4 separate regions of the Homo sapiens genome follow, and all the other regions are linked to region 1. Evidence: promoter capture Hi-C in human tissues and cell types (Jung and others, 2019). All regions are on one chromosome and are shown on one strand. The core of a region is centred on a gene start or on the middle of the fragment in contact, and the rest is flanking DNA. Distances in the headings are between cores, read along the strand shown. Region 1 holds the start of NLRC4 (NLR family CARD domain containing 4). Region 2 overlaps BIRC6 (baculoviral IAP repeat containing 6). Region 3 overlaps SPAST (spastin). Region 4 has its middle 7.2 kb from the start of DPY30.

Region 1 (2,700 bases), core at 34-2,533:
CTATTTTGGTGGCTGTCTTTGCAGTTTTTTCTCTTGAACATATGTTTATATATAGGTTTCATTACAATTTAAAAATCTAGCTGATAGTGTAGCCCTCAATCTCACTTCAGAGAAACCCACCTCACAAGTTGGGAAACACTGACACTGATGCCCCCTTAGAAAACCCAGGATGTAGACATTTATTTGCCGGGAAACTTTGGTATCCCTCTATGGCAGATAGGCTACTGTCAGAATGCTCTTTTTGAAATAAGAAGTTATGTAACACAAAGACATGTTCCTGGTAGTTTATGCAAAGACAGAGGAAAGAGTATGCAAGAATGTCATCCTCAAGGGAAGTGCAGAGAGATTTCTTCAGTCCTCAGCTGAGTATAAGCTGGCCTCCTGGAGTCTGTGAACACAAACGTCCAATGTGAGTGTGCCTGTGCAAGCCCCTGGCTGTTTATACTCCGGAGGGTGTCCCCGTGCGTCATCGGTGGAGTGGACCAAAACTGGTGATCTGTTTGCCCTGTGTGACCTTGCCCAGAACCCTGCTGACTGAGAGAACACATCTGCTGGAAGTCCTCTGGGATTCAAGGTACAGGGGTAAGCATGACCTTGAATGCAGTAGCAATGTGCTTTAGCCAACTAAGCTGGCTCATTTCATTTACCGCTCTATCTCCCATGGTTAAGCATTAAAAATACATGTTGTGGCTGGGCATGGTGGCTCACGCCTGTAATCCCAGCACTTTGGGAGGCTGAGGCTGGCAGATTGCCTGAGGTCAGGAGTTCGAGACCAGCCTGGCCAACATGGTGAAATTCTGTCTCTACTAAAAATACAAAAATTAGCCGGGCATGGTGGTGCACGCCTGTAGTCTTAGCTACTGGGAGGACTGAGGCGGGAGGAACGCTTGAACCCGGGAGGCAGAGGTTGCAGTGAGCTGAGATTGTGCCACTGCCCTCCAGCTTGGGTGACAGAACAAGACTCTGTCTCAAAAAAAAGAAAAAAGAAAGAAAAAGAAAAAAAATATATGTTGGATGTTCAGAAGACTTTGTTTCATTTTAAGGTATAGAATAAGTAACTCAACAGCAATGAATTCATATGTTGTGAACAAACAGGAAACAAATGAGTAATTCCTTTCTTGACGGAATTTCTAGCTCTTGCATCTTTTACTCTGAAGTTCTACTTCTTCCCCGGCTACTCCTGCCTACACCCATCTTCCCTTTCTGAACTGGTAGTACTTGTGTCCAAACCACTCTTACTGTGCTTTGAAAAAAAAAAAAGGAACTGCTCAGCAGTTCCCCTCTCTGTACACTGTCCTCTCACAGAACAAGAAGGTATCTGGTCTACAAGAACTCGAGGCCTCACTGAAACGGAAAGCAAATACAAAGAAACTTTATTTTAAAAACATGTCTTGGTCTCCCAAGAAGAGGGCAATTGGATTGCTCAGCCAGGTACTGTGGGTAGAGAGAATGGGATTTTTAAGGTCTGGGGCCCAAATATTAAAATCTGGGTTTACATTCATTTAAAGCTTGTGTCTGGGATGTACAAAAGCCTTAACATTGACGAGTGTGATTTGCATGCCTGGCTGGATTTGCCTGCCGAGAAACCTTTAGGGGTGGTTAATCGGGTCTGCTGGGGCTTCATCAGGTTCAAGGGGTACATGTACCCCTTGGACTACTGTGAGATGGAAAGGACTTTGGAAACACTTTTTGGCATTACAGAAAGGAAACTCACTCTTTTTTTTTTTTTTTTTTTGAGACAGAGTCTTGCTCTGTCACCCAGGCTGGACTGCAGTGGCGTGATCTCGGCTCACTGCAACCTCTGCCTCCTGGGTTCAAGCAATTCTCCTGCCTCAGCCTCCCAAGTAGCTGGGATTACAGGCACCCGGCACCGCGCCCCAGCTAATTTTTGTATTTTTAGTAGAGACAGGGTTTCACCATGTTGGCCAGACTGGTCTCAACTCCTGACCTCGTGATCTGCCCACCTCAGCCTCCCAAAGTGCTGGGATTACAGGTGTGAGCCAACGTGCCCGGCCAGGAAACTCACTCTTGTTGCTAAGACTGTTGTTAGAATCACAGATGATCAAAGCTGAAAGGAACGAGGTGGACTACTTAGTCCATCCAATCTCCCAAGTTACTGATGAGAAACCTGATATTTGGAGACAGAAGTGAAGGAAATCACCCTTTACGGGACACCTATTTCGTGATAGGGTCTTTATGTACATTATCTCAGTAGATCCTTGCAGCCTGGCTTTGAGAGGTGGAAAATGTGGTAGAGAGGAGTTAAATGTCCTGCCCTACATCACACTGCTAATTGTCTACAAAACTAGGATAGAACCTGGTCAGCACACTTCTTAACTGTTCACACACTTTTATAATATTAGTCGTATTAATGTGTTTAAAATACCATAGACTGGGTGGCTTAAACAACAGAAATTTATATTCCCACAGTTCTGGAGGCTGCAAGTCCAAGACCAAGGTGTCAGCAGGGTTGGCTTCTCCCCACGCCTCCCTCCTTGGCCTTTTCTCTCTGTATGCACATTCCTGGTATCTCCCTTTGTGTGTCCCGATTTCCTCTTCTCATAACAGCCTCATTTGAGCTTAATGACCTCTTTAAAGGCTCTGTCTGCAAATACAGTCACATTCTGAGGTTCAGGGCTTCAACATATGGATTTGGGGGAAGCCCAGTTCAGCACATAACACTAATATTAACATGTGAGA
Region 2 (2,700 bases), core at 12-2,511, 250 kb before region 1:
ATTAATCAAAATATTAAAAAGTAACATAAATCAGGAAGAAATCTCTCTGTTTTTCTAATATGGATGCTACACATAAAAACAGAGAATGCCAAATATTTGCTCAAAAATTTATCAACAAAAATATGTTTCAAAACTACTTCAAGTTGGCCGGGTGCGGTGGCTCATGCCTGTAATCCCAGCACTTGGGAGGCCTGAGGTGGGCGGATCATGAGGTCAGGAGATTGAGACCATCCTGACTAACACGGTAAAGCCCCGTCTCTACTAAAAATACAAAAAAAAAAAAAAAAAAAAAAAAAAATTAGTCAGTTATAGTGGTGGTCGCCTGTAGACCCAGCTACTCAGGAGGCTGAGGCAGAAGAATGGCATGAACCCAGAAGGTGGAGCTTGCAGTGAGCCAAGATTGCACCACTGCGCTCCAGCCTGGGCAACAGAGCAAGACTCCATCTCAAAACAAAACAAACAAAAATTCAAGTTGGTATCAATTTGGAAGTAGAAGACATCAAGGTAGAATGACATTAGGACAACTCATTAAAATTACCTAAATGTAAAAAAAAAAAAAAAAAAAAAAAAAAAGAAAAGAAAAGAAAAAAATCACTAAATATTTAGCCAATGTGTTCAAATGTCATTTACATGTTATGATATTGTTTCATTCTGTAAACAGCAGGAAAGGGTGCAGAAAGTCATGAAAAGATTTCGATGAATACGATAATCAATAATAAATAAACAGAACCATTATAAAAACAGTTGAAGTACCAACTACAGACACAATATCCCTACATTCATATACACATATAAAGTACTACCTAAGACAGTATGACTCTGATACCATCACTTTACAAGGTTCCTTTCACACGTAGCCAACTTAAAAATATATGTTTTATTCCATTCCTCAAAAGCAGTATTAACAAAGAATTCTATTTAAGTTCAAATTTGCTTAAAGTATGTCCAAACACATACAAATGTATGTCTAATGTTCATGAATACTTGCAGAAGTTACATCGTGTGAGGCATATGGTAAACATACAATATATCACAGTATTGTCTTTTATGAGATCATCTAAGGAAAAACTGTCAGAAACATTTACTATAGCATGATTATGTGCATGTGTGTGCTTAATTAAATGAAAAATAAAATCGTACCTGTCTTTTGTACCAGGATCCTGAGTTGTTCCAAGCTGGTAAAGAATATCTATCGTAGAGTCAGAAGAGAGTCCATTTAGTCTTCCAAAAAGTAAAGGACTATTCAAATCTTGCAACAAAGAATCCAAAGAAAAAGTTTGCTAAATAAGCAAGTTAACCATGGGAAGATTTACTTAATTGAATTAAGTTATTCATTAAAAATGAGGCTTCCATAAATTCCAACAACACAGAACAAACTCTAAAAATAATGAAACTAGGCTGGGTGCAGTGGTTCACACGTGTAATCCCAGCACTCTGGGAGGCCAAGGTGGGTGGATCACCTGAGGTCAGGAGTTCAAAACCAGCCTGATCAATATGGAGAAACCCCATCTCTACTAAAAATACAAAAATTAGCCGGGTGTGGTGGCAGATGCCTGTAATCCCAGCTACTAGGGAGGTGGAGGTTGTAGTGAGCCAAGATTGCGCCACTGCACTCCAGCCTGGGCAACAGAGTGAGACTCCATCAGAGAAGAGAGGAGAGATAAACATAAACTAAAAGAAAAAATAATTCCCAAAACAGAGTTAAGCACGAAGATCGCACAGTTCAACTGCTGTTACTTTACAGATATGTAAACATTTAAATATCAAAGTTAATTATCACCTGTAGGATCACTGCCTGATGCTGCACAATTTCTCAGGAGAATGTCTATGAGCTTCAGGCCAATTCTAGTAGACTGCAGTCCTATCTTTACAAGCACAACCTCGATGTTGGGTGAATGCATTCCACAGTAAGGTGACATCAATAAGGCCGCACAAGTCTGCAGCAGATTAGCAGTAGGTGCAGCTGCACTTGCCATCATTCCTTCTAGATCACTTATGTGAGTAAGGCAATGATGTAATAACCGTAACCATCCAATACTGAAAATACAAAATGACTTGTATGATCAATATAAGTCGCTCAAATCACTTCGGGGTAGAACATAACTTTTTAAAGATCAGCATGTTGTGTTTCATAAACAGCATTAACCAATCTAAGACATGTTTTTTTAGAATGCTGCAAATTAAGTAAACAGACAGTAAGTTTCCCCTATAAGATAAATCATGGCCAGGCACGGTGGCTAACACCTGTAATCTCAGCACTTTGGGAGGCCGAGGCAGGTGGATGACAAGGTCAGGAGTTCGAGACCATCCTGGCCAACTTGGTGAAACCCCTTATCTACTAAAAATACAAAGATTAGTTGGGCATGGTGGTGGGCGCCTGTAATCCCAGCTACTTGGGAAGGTGGGGCAGGAGAATCATTTGAACTCGGGAGGCAGAAGTTGCAGTGAGTCTAGACTGCACCACTGCACTCCATCCTGGGCGACAGGGTGAGACTCTGTCTCAAAACAAACAGAAAGATAAATCACATACAAAAGTACTTGTATTCATAGCACTTAGACACCATGGGTTTGCTTTTTTAGGCAATCATCCAGAAACTTTCTTTTACATGCAATTATATATACTGATAAACTGATTACTATCATAGACTTCTAAAACTGTGTAGTCTTAGCACCTTGAAAATAGAAATCCTAAATTCTTTT
Region 3 (2,781 bases), core at 261-2,760, 180 kb after region 1:
GAAAAAAAGTTTTAAAAACATCTGTTTGAAGGGATTAGTGAGTTTCCAAAACAATGAAAATTACCAAAATTTAGAAAGGAGGGACCATATCAAGCCCATTAGGATGGTTATTATTTTAAAAATTATCGAAATATAAAAAGGAGAGAAGCCAGCAGAGATGAGCCCAGCATTTGGAGCACTTTTCTTTCCTTTTTTTTTTTTTTTTTTTTTTTGACAGTGTCTCACTCTGTCGCCCAGGCTGGAGTGAAATGGTATGATCTCGGCTTACTGCAACCTCTGCCTCTCGGGTTCAAGCAATTTTCCTGCCTCAGCCTCCTGAGTAGCTGGGACTACAGGCACACGCTACCACGCCCAGCTAAGTTTTGTATTTTTAGTAGAGACGGGGTTTCACCATGTTGGCCAGGATGGTCTCGATCTCCTGACCTCGTCTACTTGAAGTGACTGTGAACTCTGAAAGTGGTGGAGAAAATAAGCAAAGCTTTCAGTGGACTCATGCAACTAAACAGACAAAAAATGAATTTCAGAGCATGCCCAGGAGAAGCTGTGGCAAAAGATTTTGGCTGGGACCCTGAATGAATGAACAGTTAAGAACTGAGCCACAGCCAGGCGTGGTGGCTCATGCCTATAATTCCAGCACTTTGGGAGGCTGAGGCAGGTGAATCACGAGGTCAGGAGATCAAGACCATTCTGGCTAATACAGTGAAGCCCCATCTCTACTGAAAACACACACAAAAAAACGCCAGGTGAGGTGGCTCACGCCTGTAATCCCAGCACTTTGGGAGGCTGAGGCGGGTGGATCATGAGATCAGGAGTTCGAGACCAGCCTGGCCAAGATGGTGAAACCCCATCTCTACTAAAAACAGAAAAATTAGCTAGGCGTGGTGGCGCACGCCTGTTGCCTCAGCTATTTGGGAGGCTGAGGCAGGAGAATCACTTGAACCCAGGAGGCGGAGGCTGCGGTGAGCCAAGATCGTGCCATTGCACTCCAGGCTGGGTGACAAGAGCGAAACTCTGTCTTGAAAAAAAAAAAAATTAGCCAGATGTGGTGGCACGTGCCTGTAGTCCTAGCTACTCTGGAGGCTGAGGCAGGAGAATCACTTGAAGCCAGGAGGCGGAGGTTGCAGCGAGCTGAGATCGTGCCATGGCACTGCAGCTTGGGCAACAGAGTGAGACTCCATCTCAAAAAAAAAAAAAAAAAAAAAAAAAAAAAGAACTGAGCCAGACCATACAAGAACTGAAACCCATATTCAAATTATTTCAATCCCTTAATGTAGGGGTTGGCAAACTACAGCCCATAACTTACACTGATTATCCTTTAGATACATTTATAGCAGAAAATCCAATCTTCCAATGGTCTCCAGTGCACAAAAGGCCTCCAAAATCCTTTAACATTAGCTCCCAACAGTCCCTAGTTTCTCATAGACATTTCTCTTTTAACTCTATGACCCCATATAACACTCAAATTCAACCAACCAGACTACATCAAATCAAGAAAGAATTTGGGTGGCAGAAACTTACAACCACTTGTAGTTTAAATTATTAGCCAATAGTGTAACTACATTATCTAATGCATGCCTTAGCAAACTATGGACTAAGATTAAATCTAGTAAGCTGCCTATTTTTGTACATAAAGTTTTACTGGGTCAATCTTACCATGTGACAGGGTTGAGTAGTTATGCTGCAGAGCTTAAAATGTTTACAAAATTGATAAACATAAAAACAACCCAATTAAAAAATGGGAAAAGAACATTAATAGACATTTTTCCAAAGAAGATACACAAATGGTACATAAGTACATGACAAAATGCTGAGCATCATAAGTCATTAGAAAAATACATGCAAATCAAAATCACAACGAGATACCACTTCATACCCTTTAGGATGACTATTATTTTAAAAAATGAAAAATAACAAATGTGGAGAAACTGGAACCCTTGTACACTGCTGGTGGGAATGCAAAATGGTGCAGCCCCTATGGAAAACAGGTTGGCAGTTCAAAAATTTAAACAGAAAGTTACCATATAATTCAGTAATTCTACTCCTAGGTATATATCCAAAAGTATTGAAAGCCGGGACTTAAACAGATATTTAGACCAATGTTCATAGCCACATTATTCACAATAGATGGAAACAATCCAAATATCCATTAATAAAAAACGTGGGCTGCACACAGTGGCTCATGCCGAGGCAAAAGTGGACTGACTGAGCCCAGGAGTTAGAGATGGTGAACCACATGGTGAAACCCTATCTCTACAAAAAGTACAAAAATTAGCCAGGCATGATGGTGCACACCTGTGGTCCCAGCTACTTGGGAGGCTGAGGTGGTAGGACTGCTTGAGTCCAGGAAGAGGAGGCTGCAGTGAGTTGATTGTGCTACTGCACTCTAGCCTGGGTGACAGAGCAAGACCCAATGTCAGAAAAAAAAAAAGCAGGGGTGGGGTGGCGGGTGTACATGAGTTGGAAAAAAACGAAAAAATACTTTTTTTTTTAGACTGGGTCTCGCTCTGTCACCCATGCTAGAGAGCAGTGGTATGATCTCACTGCAACCTCCGCCTCCTAGGCTTAAGCGATTCTCCCACCTCAGCCTCTTGAATAGCTGGGACCACAGGTGTGCACCACCACACCTGGTTAATTTTTTTCTAAAGACAGGGTCTCTCACTATATTGCCCAGGCTGGTCTTGAACTCCCGGGCTCAAGTGATACTCCCACTTAGCCTCCCAAAATGTTGCGATTACAGGCGTGAGCCACCGCACCCAGCCTAAAAACACAGTTCTAATCAGT
Region 4 (2,700 bases), core at 183-2,682, 220 kb after region 1:
TGGGATTACAGGCAGGAGCCACTGGACTCAGTCTTATAGGGGAGCACATTTTAAACAACAGTCTTGTGTTAACATTGGATGGCAGAACATTAAAAAAAATTTTTTTGAGATAGAGTTTTTGCTCTGTTGCCCAGGCTAGAGTGCAGTGGTGCAATCTTGGCTCACTGCAACCTCTACCTCCTGGGTTCTAGCGATTCTCCTGCCTCAGCCTCCCGAGTAGCTGGGATTACAGGCGTGTGCCACCACGCCCAACTAATTTTTGTAGCTTAAGTAGAGACGGGGTTTCACCATGTTGGCCAGGCTCCTCTCGAACTGCTGACCTCCAGTGATCCGCCCACCTCAGCCTCCCAAAGTGCTGGGATTACAGGCATGAGCCACCATGCCCGGTCAGGTGGCATCACTATTAATCTCCATTTTACTGTCTGACTTTGTCTTTTTTTTTTTTTTTTTTTTTAAAGACATGGGATCTCACTATAGTGCTCAGGCTGGTCTCTAACTATTGGGCTTAAGCAATTCTCCCACCTTGGCCTCCCAAAGTGCTAGGGTTACAGAGGCATGAACCACTGTTCCTGGCCTCTGACTTTGTCTTTTAAAAGGGAAATGGTTTCAATTTAAATTAATATGGAATGGCTTTGGGCAACCTAAAATTAAGAGATATCAAAGTTATGTATTTTGCCTATCACTTAATAACCCATGACCTATTTATGAACATTAATTTAAGTGATAATAATTTGGATTGAAAAGGAAAGCATAAAATCAACACATTTAAAAACTGAAAATCACCGCCACTGTGGCATGCACCTATAGTCCCAGCTATTTGGGAAACTGAGGCAGGAGAATATCTTGAGGCCAGGAGTTGGAGGTTGCAGTGTTCTAAGATTGCTCCTGTGAATAGTCATTGCACTGCAGCCTGGACATCGTATGGAGAACCCATCTCTAAAAAGATAGAAAAAACATTTAAAAAATTAAGACTGAAAATTAGGACGTTTTAGGAAAAAATCTAAATATAGCCTCATACAAGAAGTGGCAGAAACAATTGGCAATTTAAGGATTTGAAATGTCAGTAAGGTTGCCTTTTCATTAATTCTTATTATCCTCTCTCTTTTTTTTTTTTTCCTTGAGATGTAGTCTTGCTCTGTTGCCCAGACTGGAATGCAGTGGCGCAATCTCGGCTCACTGCAACCTCCACCTCCCGGGTTCAAGTCATTCTCCTGCCTCAGCCTCCTTAGCAACTGGTATTACAGGTGTGTGCAGCCACACCCAGCCAATTTTTTTTTTGTATTTTTAGTAGAGACAGGGTTTCACCATGTTGGCCACGCTGGTCTGGAACTCCTGACCTCAAGTGATCCACCCACCTCGGCCTCCCAGAGAGATGGGATTACAGGTGTGAGCCACCGCGTCCAGTTTTATTATTCTTATCGTTGAGATCACTTGTGTATCATAAAAATCAAAGGAACACACTATATTCATGCCTTTCAAAAACCCATTTGGTATGTTCCTTGATATACCAAAATTTATTTATTTAATTTTTTTGAGATGGAGTCTTGCTCTGTCACCCAGGCTGGAGTGCAGTGGCACCATCTCACTCACTGCAAGCTCTGCCTCCCAGGTTCACGCCATTCTCCTGCCTCAGCCTCCTGAGTAGCTGGGACTACAGGTGCCCGCCACCACGCGTGGCTACTTTTTTTTTGTATTTTTAATAGAAACGGGTTTCACCATGTTAGCCAAGATGGTCTTGATCTCCTGATCTCGTGATCCGCCCACCTCCGCCTCCCAGAGTGCTGGGATTACAGGCATGAGCCACCGCGCCCGGCCATATATACCAAAATTTCTGAGATGGGTGGTAAGATTGCTTGGGCATGTTGTTTGGTAGTAGAGACAAGGGAGCTACAGGTAGAGTGGTTGCCTTCCAATATTAGCCACAAAGAGATATTTCTCTTATTTCTCTGGAAAGTGACTTACCTAACCTGGAACATATATTTCTAGGTCTTCTTGAGAGGTGGTTGGGTGTCCCTCCCCACACATTGTACTCAGAGGGCCCATTTACACTCAGTAAATTCTATGTATTTATTTGCAAATACATTTTTGTATGTGAGTGTTGGGGGGTGGGGTGGGGTAGGTGGGTGTGGGTGGGTGCTGGATCAAGTTCTTAATTTTTCTGAATAATTTCTTTCCTGCAAATTATTTTAAAACAACAAAGTAAAAAGCTAATGAAGGGCCGGGCATGGTGGCTTACAAAGTGCTGTAATCCCAGCACTTTGGGAGGCCGAGGTGGGTAAATCGCTTGAGGCCAGGAGTTTGAGATCAGTCCGGCCAACATGGGAAAACCCCCTCTCTACTAAAAATACAAAAATCAGCTGGGTGTGGTGGCATGCGCCTGTAGTCCCAGCTACTTGAGAGGCTGAGGAAGGAGAATCGATTGAACCTGGAAGGTGAAGGTTGCAGTGAGCCAAGTTTGCAAAACTGTATTCCAGCTTGGGCAACAGAGTGAGATCCTGTCTCAAAAATAAATAAATAAATGAATAAAATTAAAAAGCTAATGAAGTGGCTTGATAAGTAATGTAGATAAGACAAAATGAATTTCAATTACATTTGTGTAACTTCAGTTTACAAAGCAGTTTCATCTTTTTTTTTTTTTTCAAGACAGGGTCTTGCTGTGTTGCCCAGGCTAGAGTACAGTGGTGTGATCAGGACAGCCTA

The links. Contacts are between HindIII fragments. The study calls those that stand out against the background at their distance.
Region 2: a contact is called between a fragment that was not itself captured here and the fragment with the promoter of NLRC4 in region 1, in 2 of the 25 tissues and cell types used here (liver and pancreas).
Region 3: a fragment that was not itself captured here is called in contact with the fragment with the promoter of NLRC4 in region 1 in 1 of the 25 tissues and cell types used here (H1 embryonic stem cells).
Region 4: a contact is called between a fragment that was not itself captured here and the fragment with the promoter of NLRC4 in region 1, in 1 of the 25 tissues and cell types used here (liver).

The regions. Positions count from the first base shown.
Region 1 is chr2:32,263,469-32,266,168 of GRCh38, reverse strand. NLRC4 (NLR family CARD domain containing 4) reads left to right here and starts at 1,283. Exons shown (of 9, transcript NM_001199138.2): 1 at 1,283-1,431. The HindIII fragment of the contact is 13,663 bases long and covers 1-2,700 here.
Region 2 is chr2:32,509,075-32,511,774 of GRCh38, reverse strand. It overlaps BIRC6 (baculoviral IAP repeat containing 6), which reads right to left. Exons shown (of 74, transcript NM_016252.4): 52 at 1,781-2,037; 53 at 1,141-1,249. Among named protein-coding and RNA genes, the nearest start is that of MIR558, 22 kb to the left of the region's middle. The HindIII fragment of the contact is 3,511 bases long and covers 1-2,700 here.
Region 3 is chr2:32,079,213-32,081,993 of GRCh38, reverse strand. All of the region lies in intron 1 of SPAST (spastin), which reads right to left. Among named protein-coding and RNA genes, the nearest start is that of SPAST, 17 kb to the right of the region's middle. The HindIII fragment of the contact is 7,479 bases long and covers 1-2,781 here.
Region 4 is chr2:32,045,648-32,048,347 of GRCh38, reverse strand. No RefSeq gene overlaps it. Among named protein-coding and RNA genes, the nearest start is that of DPY30, 7.2 kb to the right of the region's middle. The HindIII fragment of the contact is 6,568 bases long and covers 1-2,700 here.